Linked DNA regions of Homo sapiens: region 1 is linked to region 2. The links are contacts of gene promoters, found by promoter capture Hi-C in human tissues and cell types (Jung and others, 2019). All regions are on one chromosome and are shown on one strand. The core of a region is centred on a gene start or on the middle of the fragment in contact, and the rest is flanking DNA. Distances in the headings are between cores, read along the strand shown.

What was found. The method cuts DNA at HindIII sites, captures the fragments that hold promoters and counts their contacts. A contact is called where the count stands out against the background at its distance.
Region 1: a fragment that was not itself captured here is called in contact with the fragment with the promoter of MYCN in region 2 in 1 of the 25 tissues and cell types used here (heart left ventricle).

The regions. Positions count from the first base shown.
Region 1 is chr2:15,792,885-15,799,744 of GRCh38, reverse strand. No RefSeq gene overlaps it. Among named protein-coding and RNA genes, the nearest start is that of LINC01804, 110 kb to the right of the region's middle. The HindIII fragment of the contact is 7,599 bases long and covers 1-5,511 here.
Region 2 is chr2:15,935,120-15,941,973 of GRCh38, reverse strand. MYCN (MYCN proto-oncogene, bHLH transcription factor) reads right to left here and starts at 1,424. Exons shown (of 3, transcript NM_005378.6): 1 at 1,231-1,424; 2 at 1-26. MYCNOS (MYCN opposite strand) reads left to right here and starts at 289. Exons shown (of 4, transcript NR_110230.2): 1 at 289-442; 2 at 877-1,000; 3 at 3,249-3,474; 4 at 4,798-5,709. It overlaps MYCNUT (MYCN upstream transcript), which reads right to left. Exons shown (of 3, transcript NR_125783.1): 3 at 5,956-6,200. RefSeq lists enhancers at 1,296-1,826, 2,871-3,428. The HindIII fragment of the contact is 20,661 bases long and covers 1-6,854 here.

The DNA.
Region 1 (6,860 bases), core at 463-2,962, 140 kb after region 2:
AATGCCAAGCACTTAGCACTGGCTGAGTGTTCCCTAGATAGAAAAGGGTACGTGAATCTACTGGTTGTATTTGTCTCTGCACATCTGGTGCCTGGCACAGCACCCGATAGTCATAGCTACAGTTGTGTTTAGATTTGCATCAGCTGAGCACCTGTTTCAGGCTCTGCTAGAGACTACCTCAAGGATGAGTCACCTGTTTCTAGGGTGCTTCCAGACCAGTAGGAGCAAGAGGGTGACTTGTGCTTGTACCTCTGACCATGAAGCAAAACAGACCCAGACCCAGAGCCCTGCACTGAGAGAGGGTGGCACCAGGTGCTCTGTGGGAGGGGGCTGGAGGGACCACAGGGTCAGAGAGGGAGGAACGCACGGAAGAAGAAAGTTTGGGACCTCTAGGATGCAAAGGAATTGTCCAGGCTGAGCCAGAGGAAGGGCAGTGGATCCATTACAGCACCTGCTCTCTGTGCCTGGGCATAGGCCCCTCCTCTGTCTAGAATGTCTGTCTTCTCCCTTAATCACCAGCAATCATAGCTCATCCTCCAAGCCTTAGTTCAGGCACTTTTCTCCCTCTGAGCCTTCAGCTAGCCTTGGAGGCTCCATCTTATCCTGGAAGTCCTTCTGCTGTCACACTCATGATCCTGCATTGTATCCGTTTTCTTTCTCCTCTTTCTTTTCAGAGATGAGTATCCTTAGGACTGGATGCCTGGAAAGGACCCTTAAAACCTCTCAAGGGGTTCCATCCAAGTAGGATATGGGGACTGAGTGACTCAGAGATAAGAAAGCCAGGTGGCGATTTCAGTGCTAGGGCCAGGCTGTGGCCAACTGCATGCAGGCTGGTTGAGTTCATTCACTGATAGTGGGAGATGAGGCCAGAAGGAAATATTAGGGCCAGATGGTGAGGAGCTTAAAGTTCAAGCCTGGAAGTTGGGATTTTTTCCCAGAAGCATCGGAATCAGCTTAGTTTCTTTTACAAATATTCATCTACCATGACTAGCTGAGGCCAGTGGCACTTGGCTGAGATGTCTCAGGGATTCCTCTGGCATTTCCTTCCTCCCTCCTTCCCTTCCTCCTTTCTTCTCTTTTTCCCTTCTGTCCTTCCTTTCAACCTTCCTCCATATCTTACTTTCTTCCACCAATATTTATTGAATGACTAAGTAAGTGCCATCCATTCACAGGTTAACCAGATAAAAACTTTGTCCTCAAAAGCTCACAATGTTATGGAGAAAATGGACACAGAAACAAGGAAGGCAGTGTGCTAAATCCCACCCACCTCTTTGATGGAAACGGTCCACTCCTAGTCCAGCTCCGCTTCACAGTTAGTGTCTTCCGGAGCCAAAATCAGCTATTTTTCTGGCATGACCACATCTCTGAGCCTGGCCCATCTTTGGAGACCAGATTACTGGACAATTTGTTTATATTTACTTGGGACCCCTTGGCCCTCAGGGGCAACTCTGAGGACCCCCACATTCCCTAGATGGCTGCATTCCCGTGGGCAGGTGGTGACGGCGTACACATGTCCTGTGCTGCTGCCCTGCATCCCCAGCCAGACTGTAATATTGCCCAGGGATTTGGGAATCAGATATGTTGGGACCTCAGATTCCCTCCTGCACTCACCCTCTGCCTGGCCTGGAGCAATCAAGGAAGGCTTCCTGAAGGAGGTGCTGTTGAAGCTGATACCTGGGCAATGGTTGATGCTTTGCTCTGGTGGTTGAGGGAAAAAGAAATGAGGTGAAGGAAATCACATTAATCATGTGGAAACTGGGTATTATCATTGCTGCGGCCTCCACGGATGCATATTTGGTGAGGGAATGTGAGAGAGCTGGGAGGTAAGAGGTGGTTACAAAGCGATTCTTTTCCTAAGGCAGTCACCCACAGAATTGTGACTCTAGGAGAGCAAAGGCAGGAGAGACCCCTGGTGGCTGGGGCAGTCAAGGAAGGCTTCCTGGGGGAGAAAGCCCAGGCAGGGGAGGAGAACGCTGGCCAGGCATTGGTGAGCAGTGAGGAGCATGGCACAGGGTCTGCGCTCACCCAGGGATGAAGTTCAGCCTCTCCTCGTCGCTCGCTTTGTAGTCCCGGGTCTGTGGTTTCCTAATTTATTTGGCTTGAAATTTGTGTCAAACTTTTTTTCCAGGTGTAATTGAAACCAAACCTCTAAATGCTTGTTCATTCCTGAGGGAAATTAAAGGTGATTTCAAGCAGGAAGATCACAGATTTTAGAAAAGGGGTCTGGCAGGCAGGGGCAGGGGTGGATTCTGGACTGGAAGGCTCAGCTGTGGGAGCCCCATCTGATTAGATTAGCTGCTGCTGATTATGCTTTCCGGAGAGGGGGTGCTGCCTGGGAGATGCCCGCCCTTGTTGGGGATGAGGAGGTTTGCCAGCTGCAGGGCCTGGTGCGGACCTGGAGGTCTGGGGAGGTCTCTTGCCCCATGGCCCCTTGCCCAGGAAAGGCCAAGGTGAGGAGAGGGCCAAGGTGGGGTCAGGGAGTGGACGAATCCCCCAGCTCAAACCCACCCTCCTCAGAAAACCTCTCTGTCCTGGAGGGTAGCTAATGGGGAGACTCGGGGGAAAGTTCCCCTGCCCCCCACACTCAGAGGCTGTGTGACCTCAGGCAAGTCACACAGCCTCCCTAAAGCTTTCTGCAACTCAGTTCCTGCATCTGTACAAACGGAACGGAAAGATGACCCTAGAGTGGCAGCCAGGATTAAATTAAATGAGATGGCGCCTGTGAAACCCTCCAAGCCTGTGTCATCATGGGCACCTACAGATATCTAAGGTGGACACTAAGGTGGCGTCCCAGCGGTCGAGGGAAACAGCCAGGGGTTAATAGCGACTTAACCAAGATACACATTTTCCTCAAGGAGTAAGGATGGGCCTCATGGGTGCCTTAGAAACAAAAGCCATTTTTATCTCACTTTCCTCCTGCCCATAAACAGATATTTGAAAAGTTTGCCATGTAAGCTTTAATTCCTGCTCACCCAGAAATATTTTAAAAGGGTGCAAACTTTTCTATGGGTTGAGCACTCTGCTAACCACATTCCATGCATTTAAGCACTGAATCCAACGAAAGATAGGAAGTAGGTATTACGCTTCCATTTTACAGGGGAGAACATTAAGATTCAGAAAAGCTGTGTAAATCTGTCCCCGGGCCTGGGGCTGGGACATGCTGAGCCTGGGTAAATCTAACTGCAAAGGGCCCATTCTCCGACTCTCTTTTTACACCCAGCTCAAAGCCTCTTCTCTGAAAACCTGCTTGGTGTGAGACAGGCTCCGGACCCTGAACAGCTCTGTGAGGGCAGCAGTGTAATGCACACCCTACAGAGATACTCAAGCCCAGACTCCGTATGAGAGAGGTGCTTCCGACCCACTCCTGTTGACCTGCTCCTCCCCTGTCCCCTCCTGGATCTCAGCTTTCCTGGCCACCAGCTGCCCTACTCCTCATTCCCCATCCTCTCTCCTGCCTCAGGGTTGCAATTGACTCCCACCTGCCCAACGGCCTCCACTCATGTGCCCACCCAGCAAGGCTGTCTCAGGTGGTCTTGGGTGGCACCTATTTCCACCCAACCCCCAACACCCTCCTTCACAAGCACCACCCAGAGGACAGGTGGTTCCACACTCTGATCATCCCCCAGCCCTCCAGTCTGGACCAGATGCTGATTTCTCATATCTGAAGTACCATCATATGGTTTAGGGATTTGTTCTGTGTCTCTAAGGCAGAGTCTGGAAGCTTTGGGGAGGATTCCAGCTTATCACCAAGAAGGCGTTTCAGGAGTCTGGGGGCTTGGACAAGAGATTGACTTCCTCAGGAAGAAGTGAGCCTCCTGCTCCTGGAAGAGTGGGAGCAGAAACTGGACAGTCCCTCGGCAAAACAGCCAAGAGGATCTGGGATTGAGCTATGGGATCACACTGGCTGCCCCCTGAGGAAACTTTACGTCTTTAAGAAAACTCTGTCCCACCTAGGACACCACCAAAACGTAGTCTTGCACTTGCTCCTGGCCTGAAGCCCACGTCGGAATGCGCTTCAGAGGCTTTTCCTAGCAGCCACTACTTACGCCTGCTGGAACTCCCTCTTGAACCCAAGCTCTTCTCTCTTCCTGGCTGTGGCCAGGCCAGGTGGACATATTCTGTAACCAAACACTCAGGCTGCTAATGTCATCCAGATGTTCCCCGCTGGCTGCAGCCAGGGCCTGGCTCCCGGTCAACAGGATGTGCCGCCGCTCAATGTCAGGGTTTCTCCTCTAAGGAAAAGCTTCATCTGTCAAGCAAATGAATATGAACTTACTCTGAAACTAAACTGAAGCTTCCCACTTTTCCCCCACAGCCATGAGTGCCCAGGAGGGCACCTCCAGCGTGGCATCACGACCTGAGTCAAGTGCCTCATCTCTGCGTTTTCTTCCTGTGTGGCCTTGGCCAGGCTGCTTAATCCCACTGAGCTCTACTTCCTCTTCATCCAAAGGAAGGTTAAATGGTCTAACATAGGGCTGCTCACACTGTAGGTGTGTTTGAGTCTCCTGGGGGTGGGGGTGGGGGGCTTTGTTAACATGCAGAGCCAGATTTAGCAGGTCTAGGGTGTGGCCTTTCTAACAAGCTCCCAGGTGATACTCCTGCTGCTGGTCAGTGAGCAGTGAGGCTTGGACAGACAAGAAAGGCAGGAGAGGGGAGTGCAGGGGCTCAGGACTCAGGCTCCGGCAGAGAGCACCTAGATTGGAATCCCACTGTGCCTACTTACTGGCTGTGTGACCTTGGAGAAACTCATTCGACTTACCATGCCTCAGTTTCCCCATATGTGAAATGCAGATAATTAAAGTAACTACCTCATAAGGTCATTGTCAAGATTAAATGAATTAACACAGATAAAGAGCTTGCAACAGTACCTGACATATAGCTTTTGTTTGTTTGTTTTTAACATAAAAAGATATGTAAAAGCTTTAGCCCTTTCTTATGGTGCATAATCACTGTCCAATAAATGTTTGTGACATCCAAAAACAGGGTATGGGTGGAGCCATGAAGAGTTGCATACATTTTGACCTGACTTAACAAATGATATGATTCCAGGAACGCAAAGATTTTCATCTTTTTTTCTGAATCTCAACGAGTCACGGCCAGTTGGAGTTTGAAAGTCTTAGAGATTGTCTGGTCCAGTCTCTCTAGTTTATGGCCAAGGGCACAGAAGACAAGAGGAAGAGACTCACTCAAGGGTATATCAAGCTTTCAACAAAGAACTGGCTGCTTCTTTTTAGTGTTCAGGTCTTCCCATGGCCAGAATTTGCCCCAGTCTACCAAGTCCAGCTCAATTATTTTATTTGTGGAGCGGTGGAGGGGAAAGCTTGGTAACAGCCATGGGAAGCATTGGAACAATTGATCCAGAAGATTGCTTGCAGCCATGTCTCCTACCCCCACCCAGCTGGGAGCTTCTTAAGGCCTCCCATTCTGCTGGTACTGCAGGTAACAGTCAATTCTCATTATTCATGGGAGTTATGTTCTATCAAGCTGCCTGAATGCCAAATTAGCGGACACGGAACCACAGCTCCTAGGAGAAATACAGGGCCGGGTTCCTGTGAGCTTCTCATCACAACACTGTTGTCAACCAATCAATACATCACCTTATTTTATGCACGTTTCTGTTTAAAGACACCTTATCAAATATATATTGTTGTTTCACTAACATTCAGTTCACGACCAACAGCACAACTCGCAGCTGAACAAAGCTTAGCTAACTCATGGATGCTCTGTGTCAGGCACATCACAGCCTCCTCGTGCTCAGAAGCGCTCGACAGCACTTCAGCACTGTGCTTAGGGACCATTTAAACAACAACAAGCACGAAGATGCGAAAAACATGGCACTAAATATACCTCAGAAAGGACATTCGGACACAGTCTGAGAGCCGAGACAAGAAGGCAGAGCATTGCACCATTCAGCCTAGGCTGGGAGCATGTGCGTCAGGTGATTCAAATTTCTCACCACTTTGTGCAGGTTCTTGGATAACTGCAAAGGCACCACAAGTATTGATTTGGGGATTATGAATACATTTTAGCCAGCAGGTGAATTTGCAAATAGAGAATCTGTGGATAATGAGGACTGACTGTATTTGTGCACATGTTTCATGCCTACCTCTGGGCCAGGAGCTCTGGGAGAGTAGGGTCCCTGCCTATTGTCGTTTTCTCTCCACATCCCTGGGGTCTGGGACATGGGAGGAGGGAAAGAAGAAGGGGAGATGGAGCAGGCTTTAAGCCTTCTGGCAGATCAGAAACTCACAGCCTGCTGGCACTGCTAGAGGAAACATTCTCTTTAATGAGCTTTAGGAGATCCTGGAGGGGGAAAATAATCAATGGCAACTTTCTCTCCAACTTCAGGAACCACTTACCTTCCGGGCAAAGCTTCTCTGCTGGTCTTTTCTCTTCCCTTTCCCAGCCATTCCCACCTGGCATCTCAGGATTCCCAGGCCGCCCTCCTGGCACCAGCATGGTGGTGTGTAGGCAGGTGGTATGGCCAGGGGCAGGAGGAACCCCCAGGATGCTGAGGGTCAGTGGCCAAGGATGACATTCTGGGAGAACTCTCGGACAGCAGGAAAGGAACGAATATTTCCTGAGCACCTGACATCACATGTCAGGGCCTTCCTGGGTGTGCTGTTTTCTTTCAGACAATCTTGAGAGATAGGTATTGTTATGTATTGTTATTATTATCAGTATTGTCCACCTTTCTTTCTTTCTTTCTTTCTTTCTTTCTTTCTTTCTTTCTTTTTTTTGATGGAATCTCACTCTGTCACCCAGGCTTGAGTGCAATGGCGTGATCTTGGCTCACTGTAATCTCTGCCTTCTGGGTTCAAGCAATTCTCCTGCCTCAGCCTCTGGAGTAGCTGGGACTA
Region 2 (6,854 bases), core at 175-2,674:
GCGGGGGCCGGCGCCGACCTCCAACACTGCAACCGACAGACACACCGGAGAGGGTGGGCAAACGGGGCAGACCGAGGGGATAGGCAATGGGCGCCCCCTCTAACCAGGTTCCCCAATCTTCCCTCCAAGCCCCCCACTCTGCCCACTGCTCCCGAAGGTGGAGGAAGTTGTGCCTCTCGCTCCCTCCCTCCCGCCCTCCTTTTGTGTACAAGCTGTCTACGACAGGGGGTGGGAGGGGGCATGCAGATGCAGGGGGTGGTGGCGAGGCTCCGCAACTTTGGAAACTGCCATTTCATTCACACAAGGCACTGCCTGGGGGAGGGGGCTGTTCCTGGCTGCAGAATTCTAGCTCTCACGAGCACGCAGACAACCGCACTCGCAGCGGTGTGGGGCCGGCTGCTCAGGGGAAGCCCCAGGCTCTCCGACCCAGCTACCGGGAATGGTATTTGGAGTACCTTCTACCCCCTTTGTAAAAATGCAACCTCAGGAGTGCAAATGATAGCAGGGGATTTAGAAAACTTTGCAAATAAAAAAAAGCCTTTCTCTAGACAGAGACCAACAACAGACACCCATATCCACAAATCCTTCCCCTCCCCAAATTTGAGCAAACGCCCCTCGGCATTCACCCGCTGCAGGGATACTCCTGCCAATAGCTTAATTGGAAGCTCTCTAAGCCCACCCCTGCTCTTCCAAACCCACGACAACGTCCTCTTCCAGGGAGGGAGAGGCTGAGCCCCTGTTCCCGGGAATGGCAGGGGCGCCCGCGCGAGGAGGGTCGCCGGGAGAGCCGCCTCTCCTCCAAGCTGGAGCAGCCGTGACCCAGATTGCGACCGCGGCGGCCTCGCCCTGCCTAATCCCCCCCTCTTCTTCCTCCAGGGGCACCCTTTGGAGAAGAACCCCAGCCTGGGGTGGGGACGCACCGGCTCTCCGACAGCTCAAACACAGACAGATCTTCTAGAGCCGAGGGAATTTCTTTTCGCAGAAGCCATTACTCCCCCCGGTAAGGGCTGCAAAAGGATTAGGGCGGGTCTCCTCTAGCCAGGATGCCTTCGGGGCTGGAACTGGCTTTTCTGGGAAAACCCAGAGATGGTTTTGTTTCGGAAGCAGAAACAGTCCCCCGGGCATATTAGGGCGCCCGGTGCGCACGTCGCAATCCCGTCCAGGGCTTGCCTTGCCCCGGCGCTCGTCGCTTCCCTGGGCGCCGGGCGGTTTGCAAGCCCTGCTCCTTACCTCCCGCCGACTGCAGGGGATCCGGAGGCGATTCTGCGCGGGTGTCTCCGGGTGGGCCGGGGGGGCGGGGGTGTCCTCGGATGGCTACAGTCTGTGCGCGCTTGCGCCTGGCTAGCGCTTGCTCGGCTCCAACACAGTTCCCAGGAGCCCCCCGCATCCACCCAGCGCGTCCAGACAGATGACTGTCACAGCCTGCGCTTTGAAGCTCGGGGGATATTATTAACTGAAAAATCTGACACACCCGGGGGGCGGGGAGAGAAGGGGGCTGTGGCGCAGACAAGGGGGAGGGAGAAAGGAGAGGAAAGCGGCTTTACCCCGCCCTCCTGATTTCCATAAAAATCAGGGGAGGCGCCAAGGCTTTCGCGCCAAAAGCCACTTGCTTTTCTTTGCAGAGAGAAGGCTGCAAAGCTGGGAAGCCCAGGGTGTGCTCCTCCCGCCCTTTTGGACCCCCGGGCTTGCACCGGCTGCACTCTGAGAACCAGCTGCGCGCGGAGCGGTGCAATGCAGCACCCACCCTGCGAGCCTGGCAATTGCTTGTCATTAAAAGAAAAAAAAATTACGGAGGGCTCCGGGGGTGTGTGTTGGGGAGGGGAGACCGATGCTTCTAACCCAGCCCCCGCTTTGACTGCGTGTTGTGCAGCTGAGCGCGAGGCCAACGTTGAGCAAGGCCTTGCAGGGAGGTTGCTCCTGTGTAATTACGAAAGAAGGCTAGTCCGAAGGTGCAAAATAGCAGGGAGAGGACGCGCCCCCTTAGGAACAAGACCTCTGGATGTTTCCAGTTTCAAATTGAAAGAAGAGGGGCGCCCCCCTTGTTTGAAAATAAATAAATAAATAAGTGCGAGCTACGAGGGTGGCGCCGCGGTGGTTTCTTCGGCCGAAGGCGACACCTCGCGGAGACTGAGCAGAAAGCGGAGCTGCCCGGCCTTGGCGCGGACCTGGAGTGCGGCCACTCCGCAGGTCTCCCGCCGCCCCCGCGGGACTGTCCACGCGTCCTCACCACTGCGGAGGAGGAGGCGGCCTGGCTCTGCTTCCTAGGGGGAATGGGCGTACGTTCCCTGCAGCCGTCCCCAGGGCTCCCAAGTTAACCTTTTCAAAGCCACCATTCTCCCCAGTTATGGGCAGGCGAATCTGATTTACCGAGATGGAAGTGCTGTCCACACCTCCTGAGACCCAGCCTCGGCTCAAACAGCTTGATTCCAAACTGTTGAAGGGAAAAAGGAAAGCTGCTGTCACTACTTCGTTTCTTTGTGCCTCAGTTTCCTCAATTGTGAAATGGAGTTCGTAGTGCCTCCTACCTGAGAGTTATGAAAGCTCTTATAAGTCCCCAGCCCATAATAGTTGTGTCAGCTATTATTATGATGATGACCACGACATGCTATTCTTCTGGGGAAAATAACACCCCTCTGTCCAGCAGCAGCATTGGCCCCTTCCCTTCCCGCCACCATCAAATCCTGGCTTTACTTCACTCTGGTCTAGCTTTTCTTACAGGTGTATTTGTTTGCAGGGGGTCAGACATTATTGCCCCTGCCCTCCAAACTCTCCAAAAACAACCCTGATCTCCTGGACAGCCCCCTTCACAACCAAATACACAGTGAGGTGGGATTTTGCCTTGAAAAACATTCCTTAGGCTTGTTTGGAGAGAGGGGAACCTGGCCCTGGGATTGGGGTGGGAAGGCTTCCCCGCCTCTCCCTACTTTTTTCTCCAAACTGGAAATGCCATTCTCCATCGCCCCCACCTCTTCACCTCACCATTGGATCTAGTTAAGGAGGAGGATGCTGAGGGTCAGGGGGCAACCCATAAAATGCTCACAGATTAGCATTTGTGAAGGCCTTTCCAGCCCTGACCCTGGACGCCTACAGAGCTCTAGGGAGAAAGATTCCCAGAGTTCTAGGAAGAGGCCCATGAATGCGGATGAGCAGCCCTTCCAAGCACCTTTATTATTGTTATTTCCCTCACAAATGTAAAAGCCTTCATCTTTGCAAAAGCCTTTTACAGCCCCACTTCTGCTTTTCCCTAGCCCCCTAATCGCCACCAAGCCCTCCTGCTGAATTCTCGCCTAGCATCCTGTCCTTTCCTGTCCAGCACTCACCTCCATTTGTAATGATCCATGCCTGGGAGTATTTGTTTAGTGCTCACTTCCGTGACACTGTGGAAGACAGGCTCAGTCTCCCTCACTAACCTGTGACCTGGGTCAGTTTTGCTCCAGAGGGAATCCTTACGGCACAGCAGTGTACCTGTATATAGTAAGTACTCATGGTATTATTCAAGACCAAGATCACTGAATGAGTCCTTCTAAGGTGGCCAGATCTTCTGTGGCAAGACTGTGAAAATAGGCCAGGATGGGTTCAGTTGCTCCGATTCAAAGTCCTACCTTTGTCCTTTCTCCTCAGATGAATGACCATCACTAGGTCATTCACCCTTTGTCGAGGGACAAGGTGTAGCAGAAAAGGGGGACAGAGGGACAGGAGACCTGGTTACTCTACATGCCTTTGAGCAAATCATTTATACTTCCTGGACCTCAATCTCTAATCTCCTGCTTTTAATGCAAGCCAGTAATTACTGACAAGTCTGAATCTGAAGGTTAACAGAATGATAAAATTCAACAAATATTTATTGGTTACCTTCATTTGTAAGTAGAAAGATAAAAGACTTTGTACATGGAGAAAACATGCTAATGCTGATTCTTAGTCTGCTTATAGAGAAGCCTGAAAATCCCTCTTAAAAATGTTGAAATACTTCAACTATGTGAACACACACAAAACAAATCTTCATATGGTTTCAAAGCCAAGGTTTTGTTCAGTACTGCCATGGTTTGAATGTGTCCTCCAAAAAAAAACACGTTGGAAGTTTAACCCCCAGTGCAACAGTGTTGGAGGGGAGGTCCCCAAATGCCAGTGGGACCTAGACCCCAGCCAGTGTCCAGGCTCTTGACACCATCAAGAGAATGAATTCAAAGACCAGTTGGAAAATAGTGAAAGTACGATTTATTGCAAAGGGAAAAGTACACACTCAAGAAAAGGGAATATGGGTGTACTCGAGAGACTCACACGAAAGGGGGTTTGGGGTTGCTACCTTTACGGGTTTCTTTAACCAAGAGGCAGAATATTCATGATCATTCCTAGAAAAAGAAGGAGATTTCTCAGAACTGTGACACCACCTATTTTTAAACCAAATATGGGTGTTCTCGGAAGTGTCATGATGCTAGTGGGGTGTGTGATTTAGTATGTTAATGAGCGTATAATGAGGTCCTAGGAGAAACCTAGGTCAAATCCAGTGCCATGCTGGGTTCAGTGGGTCTTAGCCAGCTTGGTCTACACTCTGTTTTTCACGGTCTTAGCCCATGGCCTCTGCAGCCATTTCAACAGTTTCCTTTTGCTAGTCATGTGAAATTGCTGCCCAAAATCTTCTATTATTCTGCAGCCACCTTATATTATTCCTGTCTCAGGACCTAATGTGAGGTGTTTAGGTCATGAGGGCTCCACTCTTGTGAATGGATTAATGCTAATTATAAAAGGGCTTGAGGCTAGGAGTTTGATCTCTTGCCCTCTCTTCCTTTTTCCTGCCAGGGGATGGTACGCCATGAAGGCCCTCAGCAATTGCTGGCACCTTGATATTGGACTTCTCAGCCTCCAGAAACATGAGAAATACATTTCTTTTCTTTATAAATTACCCAGTCTGTGCTATTAGGTTATAGCAACACAAAATGAACTGAGACAAGTACCCATCTATTACTGTGTCTGAGCCCCTGGGTGGGTTTGGAACAGAGGTAAGTTAAGGTACAGCCGCAAGGAGCTCACTGTGGACCAGGGAAGGAGACCCACATCTGAAATGGATGCCTCAATCTAATCACCAACTGCTAGGATAGAGTTATACACAGCATTTGGTTTATAATTAAGGTGATTTTTGAGAGAGGAGAATATTTTAGTTTACAAATCTCCTCTTTACTAAGACACACACACACAAAGAAACAACACACACATACACATGTTGAGAAGGGCCCAAATCATGACTGGCTAGGAGAGCAACAGCCTCTAGATGGTTTTTCCAGATTGTGAATTAAAGATCTGCTGGGTTGGCCAGGCATGGTGGCTCACGCCTGTAATCCTGGCACTTCAAGAGTCTGAGGAGGGCAGATGGCTTGAGCCCAGGATTTTGAGACCGGCCTGGGCAACATGGTGAAACCCTGTCTCTACAAAAAATATAAAAATTAGCTGGGCGTGGTGGGTGCGTGCCTGTGGTCCCAGCTACTTGGGAGGCTGAGGCAGGAAGATCACCTGAGCCCAGGGAGATCAAGGCTGCAGTGTGCCATCATCACACCACTGCACTCCAGCCTGGATGACAGAGTGAGACCTTGTCTCAAAAGAAAAAAAAAAAGATCTACTGAGTCTGTCTTCAGGGACAAGAGCACAGTTTCTCCTAGGATCTTCACACCTCCCTCAAAATGTGTACATTTTTACTGATTAAATAATTTAAAAATCCTTGGGATCGATTGACTTCATTTGGAAAACAGTAAAGCTAGCTCTCTGCCTAACCCAAATGCAAAAAAAAAAAAAAAAAGGGCAGGGGAGGGGTGGGGGTGCTGGATGTAAGAATTTTACTATGATAAAAAGTTGACAACAGTAATAGAAAATACTTGCCATATATATGAGTCAAAGATTAGATCCCAGGTATACAAAGAGCTCCCACAAATTGAATAGAAAAAAACGGGCAGACAGAAATATGACTCTAGGATACGAGCAGGTAATTTACTGAATAAGAAATGCAAATTGTCAATAAACATATGAAAAGATGCTCAACTTCACCGGTAGTCAGGGGAATGCAAATTAAATCTCAGTGAGATTAACATTTTTGGGTCTAGCAGATTGGCCCAAAGTACTGGCCAGCCTGGGGAGTGGGAGCAGGGGCCTCACATACACTGTTGGTGTGCCTGCCCCAAGAGGAAAAGCAATTCCACTCTTCATGATCCATCCTACGAGAAATAATAAGACAAACACATAAAAGCATATAAACAAGAATGTGTGTGGCTGCATCATTCTCAATAACAAAAATACTATAAGCAATCTAAATATCCATAACTAAAACAAATTAAACAGGAGAATGGTATGTAATACATCCATGCAGTGGAATTACATACACCCACTAAAAATAATGTGTTAGGTCTATAGTTACAGACGGGAAATGTTCCTGAACATGAAGGAAAATAAGCAAGGTATAGGTCAATCTGTCTGGCATTTTGGATATATATGTACTTAGATATATCTGCATCAACCCCCCAGTAACAAATTGAGAAGAATGTGCACCAAGTTGCTAACAGGGGTTTACTTTGAAGAAGACAATCAGTCAGGTGGAGGGAGAAACTTTCTTCTTGATATAACTTTTATTTATTTATTTTATTTTTTTTGAGACAGTTTCGCTCTGTCATCCAGGCTGGAGTGCAGTGGCGTGATCCCGGCTCACTGCAACCTCTGCCTCCCGGGTTCAAGTGATTCTTGTGCCTCAGCCTCCCCAGTAGCTGAGATTATAGGCACCCGCCACTATGCCTAATTAATTTTTTTTTTTTTTTTTGAGATGGGGTCTCGCCTTATTGCCCGGGCTGGAGTGCAATGGCACAGTCTCGGCTCAC